Linked DNA regions of Homo sapiens: region 2 is linked to region 1. Evidence: promoter capture Hi-C in human tissues and cell types (Jung and others, 2019). All regions are on one chromosome and are shown on one strand. Each heading gives the region's core, a stretch centred on a gene start or on the middle of the fragment in contact. The rest is flanking DNA. Distances are from core to core; before and after follow the strand shown.

Evidence for each region. The method cuts DNA at HindIII sites, captures the fragments that hold promoters and counts their contacts. A contact is called where the count stands out against the background at its distance.
Region 2: a fragment that was not itself captured here is called in contact with the fragment with the promoter of ANKRD52 in region 1 in 3 of the 25 tissues and cell types used here (aorta, dorsolateral prefrontal cortex and lymphoblastoid cells).

What each region holds. Positions count from the first base shown.
Region 1 is chr12:56,256,517-56,260,946 of GRCh38, forward strand. ANKRD52 (ankyrin repeat domain 52) reads right to left here and starts at 1,868. Exons shown (of 28, transcript NM_173595.4): 1 at 1,727-1,868; 2 at 1,312-1,395; 3 at 767-845; 4 at 499-569. The coding sequence starts at 1,753. RefSeq lists enhancers at 1-870, 1,177-1,226, 1,307-1,356 and silencers at 1,417-1,486, 1,507-2,056, 2,067-2,126. The HindIII fragment of the contact is 23,354 bases long and covers 1-4,430 here.
Region 2 is chr12:56,587,875-56,592,139 of GRCh38, forward strand. RBMS2 (RNA binding motif single stranded interacting protein 2) reads left to right here. Exons shown (of 14, transcript NM_002898.4): 12 at 420-500; 13 at 1,058-1,144; 14 at 1,266-4,265. The coding sequence ends at 1,138. It also overlaps the pseudogene RNU6-343P. Among named protein-coding and RNA genes, the nearest start is that of BAZ2A, 40 kb to the right of the region's middle. The HindIII fragment of the contact is 7,330 bases long and covers 1-4,265 here.

The DNA of each region.
Region 1 (4,430 bases), core at 618-3,117:
GCTGGAGCCAGGGAAGTGATGAACTGAGGAGGAGGTCCCCCTTTCCCTGTCTTCAGGGCTGATGGGAATAGGATAAAGGACCCAACTGATGAAATATGTTTGGCCCCTGTGCTGTCAACTTTCAAGCTGCTTGAGGGCCAAGGATGCAACAGATTACTATACCCATCCTCCATCACAAGGAAAAGAAATCTCAGTGCCCAGAGGGGGATCAGACTCAAGGTGGCCCCCCAGGGAGGGATGAGTCACTCAGGCCTGGCAGCAGGGCCCCCGCAGTCTGCCAGCCCAGTGTTAAGCTCTTCCTGAGTCACATCAGCTGGCAGCACTCAACCCCCTTACTGGCCAGTTCTAGGGGTAGGAGGAAGGGGCCAAGATTTGATCTCCTCACTACCTGGGGTAGAACAGCTTGTAGGGCTGAGGACTGAGGCTCCTTAACCCTTAACCCCCACCTTTAAGCAACTTATCCTTTTTGAAAGGGTAATAGAAGGTGGGGGTGCATACCTCGTTTCGGGAGGCAGCAGCACGATGAAGAGGGGTCAGCCACAGTGTGTCCTTAGCATTGACATTAGCACCTGTGGGGATATAATTTCCTATTTTGATGGAAGGTGGGGAGGAGGTATGAAGGAAGCCAGTAATCAGGCCAGGAAATCTGAATGGAGCTGGAGCCTCGCCTGGACCAAGCCGGGGAGAGCAATCCTTGAATATCAAAAAAGACTCCTCCCCTCCCTTCGCTCCCTATGTGCCACACCTTCCAGCTCCCCACTTTCACCTGACATCAGTAGCAACTGGAGGATGGGGACATCGCCTACGTAGGCAGCAGCATGCAATGGAGTTCGCCTCTCTTGGTCCTGGGAAGGCAAAAAAGAGCAGGGAGTATGGGCGCGGGGTAAGGGGGCTATCAAGGACCCCAGCCCAAGTCTCAGAGCTCCAGGCCCTTCCCCACAACCTCTTCCCATAGTTTCTGCAGCGTCCTAAGTCCCGGTATTGGGAGTCAAAGGCAAGCACCTAGGGAGGGTGGAGTCAGGGCCAATGGGCTGAGAAGCCGGCTCCTTTTTCCAGGAGGGGTGGGGGCGCTGCAGACTCCGGAGGTTGAGAAGAGAACAACGTTCCTGGGCATTCCCAGCCCAAGTGATCTGGGCTTCAAGCCTGACCTGCTCTCCATCCCCAAATGCAGAGTAGGCTTTCACTCCAGGATGGAAAGAACTGCGGCCTCATCTGAGCAGAGGAGACACGGAGCCGCCCCACCGGTGGGGAGGGGTCCAGAACACGGGAGCCAGGATTCCGGTCTCGCCATCCTCCCTGCTCCCAACTCACCAGCACATTGATGTTCTCCTTCTGCGAGAGTAGGGAACGCACTTCCTCCACATCTCGGCTAAAGATGGCCTGGACCAGGGGCGGCTGCAGAGAGAACCGGCATTCTGAGAGCGGGCTGGAGCCGGAGCGGAACCGGTGTGGGGGTGGGGGTGGGGGAGCACCTAGGTTTGAGTGGGGGGCGTCCGTGGAGGGGCTCCACTCTAGGGATTCTGGCTGGAGCGAGCTCCCGCGGTGCCTCCGCCGGTTGCCAGGTCCCCAAGGACACCGGCTCGGTTGAGGGGAGCGCGGCATGGGGCGGGGCGGGAGCTGCGGGAGCCCCGGGCTCAGGCCCAGCCTAGGCCGCACATCCCCGGGCTCGCGTGACGGCAGCGCCGAGCCCTGGAAGGAGGAAGCGGGAAAGGGCAGGAGGGCTGACCTGGTCCGTGATGCTGAGGATCCCCATGGCTCGGCCCGGGCTCCGTCCGCATCGAGCTCCCGGCGGCGGCGGCGGCGGCTCCACCGGGGACACGGAGCGGCCCAGGCGGCGGCTGCGGTGGCGGCTGCAGGGAGAGCGCGGCCCCGCCTACCGGGGGGCGGGCGAGTTGGAGGCCGCAGCGCTCCCTGGCGGCCGTCCTGGTCCCGGCGCTCCCCGCGCAAACGGACCCCGGCCGCAGCGCCCTCCGCCCCACCCTGGCGGCCCCAGCAGCCCCTGCACCCCCGAACTCGCGCGCCGGCTCCCCGGCTCACGCAGCTGGCCGCGCTGTGCTCTCCGCTCCAGTCTGGCGGCCCAAGGGGTTCCCCACAAGACCCTAGCGGAAACCTGGGCCTTAGTCCCGCGGTGCTTCCCAAACTGAGGACCGAACGGCTGGCCAGATCTTACCCAGCCCACAATGCTCCCGCCCGAGCTAACTCCTCCCGTCAGCGATTCCACACCCCGAAATCCCCCACAGACTAGGAGGAACTGGCGGGTGGAGAACTGGGAATTATGTATGGCAATAGCCCCAGAGGGAGGGAAAGCGTGTATCTCCACTGGCGGAGGCGTGAGTTCGGTAGAGAAGAAATAGCAAAAGTGCTCAAACTGCAGAGAAACCCCAAGGAGGATTCTACTGCAGAAAACACCCACAAAGAGGCCATGACAACTGGCAGCTGGAAAAGGCCGCCAAGACCAACAGAAGGGGCATTTTCCAACTCCTTACTGATTCCATTGCAAGGTTAAAGTGGAAAACACTCAACAATTTCTCCCCAGAACAGCCTGTGGCGCTTCCCCTCCTCCAATGGAGAGGCCAGAGAGCCGTCAATTAGAGAAGAAATGAATGGAGGTCATCTCAACCCAGAAACGGAAAAAGGAGGAAGACGAAAAGTGGAGATTGAAAAATTGATACAATTTATAAAAGGTGATCCAGGGTCCTGTTCAGAGTTTCACAACTCAATACACATTGAAGAGAACACGAAATGGACGAAGTGCAGCATGCTGGCGTCCTGTCAAGGCTTTATATATAAAAATCCTCCCTTGAGGGGAGAGGAAAAAAATTAAAAAATAAAAATACATTTTATTTTATTTTTTGAGATGGAGTTTCACTCTCGTCCCCCAGGCTGGAGTGCAGTGGCACGATCTCGGCTCACTGCAACCTCCGCCTCCCGGGTTCAGTGATTATCCTGTCTCAGACTACCAAGTAGCTGAGACTACAGGCGCCCGCCACCCTGCCCGGCTAATTTTTTATTTTAGTAGAGACGGGGGTTTCACCATGTTGGTCAGGCTGGTCTCGAACTCCTGACCTCAGGTGATCCACCTGCCACGGCATCCCAAAGAGCTGGGATTACCGGCGTGAGCCACCGCACCCGGCGAAAATACATTTCAAAAAAGCCTTCCCGGCCGGGCGCGGTGGCTCACGCCTGTAATCCCAGCACTTTGGGAGTCCGAGGCGGGTGGATCACGAGGTCAGGAGATCGAGACCATCCTGGCTAACACAGCGAAACCCCGTCTCTACTAAAATACAAAAATCAGCCGGGCAGGGTGGCGGGCGCCTGTAGTCCCAGCTGCTTGGGAGGCTGAGGCAGGAGAATGGCGTGAACCCGGGAGGTGGAGCTTGCAGTGAGCCGAGATTGCGCCACTGCACTCCAGCCTGGGCGACAGAGCGAGACTCCGTCTCAAAAAAAAAAAAAAAAAAAAAAAAAAAAAGCCTTCCCATTCCCAACATGGTGAAACCCCATCTCTACCAAAAATATAAAAAAGTAGCCTGGTGTGGTGGTGCACGCCTGTAATCCCAGCTACTGGAGAGGCTGAGGCAGGAGAATCACTTGAACCAAGGAGGCGGAGGTTGCAGTGAGCCGAGATGGAGCCACTGCTCTCCAGCCTGGGTGACAGAGCCAGACTCCATGTCAAAAAAAAAAAAAAAAAAAAAAAGCCTTCCCTTGCTTTCCTGCTAGAAAGATACTTAAGACACTAGTAACAGTCCTTTTTTCCCAGAAAGAAAAACTGGGGTACAGGAAATAAGGAATGAGAGAGAAATTTACCTATCACTATATACCTTTTGGAATTTTTTAAATTTTTACCATATTGAAAATAAAAGTTAAAATATTGCTTAGGAGCAATCACTCCGTGATTCCATGCACACACAAAAATTATGAAGAAATTTAAACTTACCTCTTCCAGGAAGTCTCCTCTGGCTAATAGGCTCTTTTCCTTTTGTTAGTTCTCCTTAACACTTACATACTTAGTTTATACTGCCACAATCTGGTTAAATTGTACACCTTTGTTTCTCATTTCACCTTTTTTTTTGGAGACCAGTGTCGCTCTGTCGCCGCCCAGGCTGGAGTGCTGTGGCGGGATCTCGGCTCACTGCAAGCTCCGCCTCTGGGGTTCATGCCATTCTCCTGCCTCAGCCTCCCCAGTAGCTGGGACTACAGGTGCTGCCACCATGCCCGGCTAACTTTGAGTAGAGATGGGGTTTCACCATGTTAGCCAGGAGGTTTCAATCTCCTGACCTCGTGATCCGCCCGCCTCGGCCTCCCAAAGTGCTGGGATTACAGGCGTGAGCCACCGTGCCCAGCCAGGTATAGTTTTTTTTAAGCTCCAGAATATCAGTATAGAGAAACAGGCATTTAATATTTGATGACTGATGATGATGATGAAGCAGCAG
Region 2 (4,265 bases), core at 579-3,078, 330 kb after region 1:
CCTACTCATGCACCTTGTGAATAGTGCTTCTGTCTGCATATTAGTTTAAGATACACACACGTCCTAGGAATCCTCATCAAAATAGTACCTGGAAGGATGGAGGAAGCTCATTAGGTTTCTTTTAGGCCTACTGCATTCCTTTTTGCATAGAAAGGGCTCAAGGGTAGAGAAGGGAGTGTGTTGAGGAAAAGCAGAAGAAAGTCAGGAAAGAGGAGGAAAATAAGTCATATAGGGAGACGTCTCCCTAACAGTGTACTTTAGAACCACCTGAAGTGCTTTTAAGATGCAAATGCTCAGACCAATTAAAATAGAATCTCTGGGGTAGAATACAGGTGTCAGTATTTTTTTTAAAGCCCCTCAGCTGCTTCAAATGTAGCCAAAAATCACTGCTGTAAGCCTGTTGATGTTTCTCTTTCTAGTATATGCCGACGGCTGCAGCTATGCAAGGAGCTTACATCTCCCAGTACACCCCTGTGCCTTCTTCCAGTGTTTCAGTCGAGGTAAGGGTGTTATCATTTCTTTGGATTGAGATTAGGAAAATGAACGGAGGCAGGTTTCCCCCTGATCAAGATCTTTCTCTCACAATGATGCTGATTCTGTGTTCACAAATAGCTGGTAGGTATACGAAGAACGTAGGAAGGATGTGCTCGCTTCGGCAGCATGCATACTAAAATTGGAACAATACAGAGAAGATTATGGCCCCTGTGCAAGGATGACATGCAAATTTGTGAAGCGTTCCATATTTAAAAAAAAAACAACAGCAGATGTAGGAAAGAAGGACTTGGTCTGAGTTCATGAATGAGGCCCTTCCTTACATTTGGCCAGCCAGTAGTTGACACCAGGATGCTGGCTTGTATTGACTAATGCGTCTTGGGAAGAGGACAGGCTGTAGGAAGGTTGGGGAAGTGGTGGTGTGGGTGGAAACACTCACACATGAGTGTGGAGAGTGGGTAGGTTTGGGAGGGCACTCGATGTAGGGTGGGCTTTGGTCAGGCTGCTGTAGTGGAGGTGAGGAAAGGAATGCGCAAGATGACCCCCCTCCTTGGCTATGGCACAGGAGAGCAGCGGCCAACAGAACCAAGTGGCAGTGGACGCACCCTCAGAGCATGGGGTCTATTCTTTCCAGTTCAACAAGTAACAGTGGGTAAGAACCACATGCTGGGGGGCAGGGAGGGCTGCACTGGCAGACAGCAGCTCAGCCCGGCCTGAAGTCAGACAGGTTCTCATGTTTGTCTTGTCTCCTCTCTGGCTTGTGCCTTCTTTAGGATTCCCCTCCCCATCTTTACTGAATAGAAATGAATTCTTGGAGATACTCATGCTCCCAGATTCCAGAGGGTTAACCAGGAATGGAGACCATCCGTCGGCCCTGCTAAGGACTAACACTTAGCCATCGTTTTTCACAGGCCTGGGCCTGGAAAAAGAAATCTCTACGTTCCTGCCCTTTACTATTGCTGATGGAGCCTGGGGGAACCATCACTTTTTTTGTGTGCTACATTCAAGGAGATCAAAAAAACTTTTCTTCTTTTGCAAAGAAAGCTTTTTGTTTTTAACTGCAACGTACTTTTCCCCTACCTTGAAGAGACATGGTGGTCGCAGCTTCTCATCTATATGAAAAAGTTTTCGATGTATTGGAATTATTTGGGAATGCTTTTAAAACAATTTGTAATTATTTCTTTACAAACCAAAACAGAACAGAAAGGTGTGGTGCTGGAACATCGATGAAGGAGCCCTACTTACTGAGCTTAGTTATGGACTTTTTTGATGCATGTGTGTATGTGTTTTAAAAAGTATGCAGGCTCTAAAAATGTTATTTTGTAAAGCTCTCAGCTCATGCACCCCATCTCCTCTTCACCCATATTATGCCTTCTTTCTCTTGTCCAGATTCTTCTTTTTCTCTTTTCTAAACAGCTGAGCCTGCCTACTTTGCCCTTTTACAGCTTTTAATTTTATGGATTTTTAAAAATGAAATTTCATGTGGAATTTGGGGTTGGGGGGCAGGCTGGGCAAGGAACAAGGCAGAACACTAAGTAGGCCATGGAAGTGGCTGTTCTTTCCCCCACCCTGCCACACCCTGGGAGAAAAAACTAGACTTTGGCTTCAGAAAGCACAGATGTGACCCAGGCTTACTAAAGAGACAACTCCACAGCCCTGGGAACACACCCTTGAGCCAAACTTGGTTGAAGACTAGGTCTTCCCTGGCAAGTTCCGGAAGAATGGACTTACTGACTTTTATCAACTCTTCTCACTGCCAAGGCCAACAGCATCTGAGGTATAGCTTTTTGGGAGTACCTGCTTTCTTGCCTCCTGGAGGATATTTTCTGTCCTGGGCTTCATGGCCCCTCTCTTCCCTGTTACACATTGCTGTGCTCAGAGCCTTTGCAGCTGCGACCTAGTTGAATCCACATAGGCTCCTTCCACACGGTGGAAGATCTGCTGCTTCACTCACAGACCAGGAGTTCTCAATCAGAGGTGGTTTTGTCCCTCAGGCCTTTGGCAACATCTAGAGACAGTTTTGATTGCCACGCCTGGAGGTGGGATGTGTGTGCTACTGGCATCTAGTGGCTGCTAAACATCCTACACTGCATAGGATAGTCCCCACTACCCCCAGCCAAGAATTATCTGACTCCAGGGGTCAATATTGCCAAGACTGGGAAACACTGATATAGACAGTGTTGTCCCTGCCTCCTGGGTTAGGGTAAATTTTCACCCCAACCCTGGACAAACAGTGCCTTTTGACACTCATGCAACTGTTGGGGAAGGACTGGACTGGGATCCTTGAATTCTCCCCAGACTTTGACTTTTGATAACTCTGCATATAGCAAGAGTGATTCTTGAAAGAGCTGTGGCTCCATGCTGAATGCACACATGTACTCAGAGGGATTCAGGTGGGCATTGTTCTGGTGTGTGCTGTGCAATGGTGGGAAAGGACAAAGCTCTCTAAACTGTCCAGAGCAACCTGCCCTGCCCCGGTGTGCTTGGACCCTTTGCCCAGGGAACCAGGACATCAGAAATAATGTTCCTTCTGTGGAAGGACAACGGGGAGCTAGGGTAGCAAAGAGCAATAAATTCCAACTCTTTATGAGGTCAGGAGTCCTTTAAAAAAGCCTATGTCTTGGTCTTTAACTGTCCCCTTCTGCAAGATGTGACTCTATACACATGGAGACAGATTGAAGAAAGACTTCACCCATCTTCTAGGAAATAAAATCCTGCTCTTGTCTTCTCCCAGTCACTCCCTTATGCACTGAAAGGAGAATTTGACTCCCTTGCACTTCAAGGCCAGGTGCCTCTCCACTAGACAGTCAGACAAAGGCAAATAATGGAGGATAGAGAGACAGGTGTTCATTAGGCTGGCCATAGGGAGAGGAAGGGGGTGACAGCAGGGGAAAAGAAACTGTAGTATCAGTTGTCACAAGTAGAGCTCGGCCCAGCTTTCCCTCCCTTCCCAGCCACCCTAGAATTGAGAGTCCCAGTGCCCCTAGTGTCGACTTTCTATGTACATCCTAGGGGTGAGGGAGTGCGGGGCAATGGGTAGGATATAAAGCGTAAAGGACAAATTGCCGCAGTCTTCTAATTGATGCTTCCAAACTCAGGAAGGGCTTATCCAGTGTAAAATAGCCCCAAGCCCAGCAACCTTCTAGAGGGCTCTGGCTGGGCAGATAGCTTTTGTTTTTGAGTCTCCAGCCCTCAGTCAAGGAAAATATACCATAGCTGCTTTCTTGTCAGTGGCCTTTGAGAGAAAGAGAAAACAAATCTAGAATTCTGTTCATCTGATAGACCGGGGGAGCTTTGCTATGGTAGGAGGTTTAGGAAGGGCCTTTCACGCATAGAAACCATTGTTGATATTGCCACTCCCCTCTCCTCTGCCTCACAGAACTCCTGATTCTGTCTTCTTTCTCTCTCTATATATATATTTTAAAATGTTTAAATGGCTCTAATTTTTTGTTTTGAATTTTGAATTTACCTTTTGGAGTTCTTCTCATGTGAATCTACTTGTTAGATTGTATTAATGAGTGTTTCTGGTTTGGGCATGGGAAGTGATGGGGGCCTGAAGTTATTTTGCAGTGGCTAATGGCACTGAGGAATTTCTTTTTTGGTGCATTTGGTTTACACTCATTTCCTCTCCTAATTGTTAGTTCATTTGTAACAGTGGGTGAGTGTTTGGAGGAAAGGAGGGAGAAGAAAGGAGGGATACTGTTTCTCCCATGAAATAGTCTAATTGGTTGGGTTGATGGCAGAAGGAAACATAGGGGAGCCTTCCAGCTCAC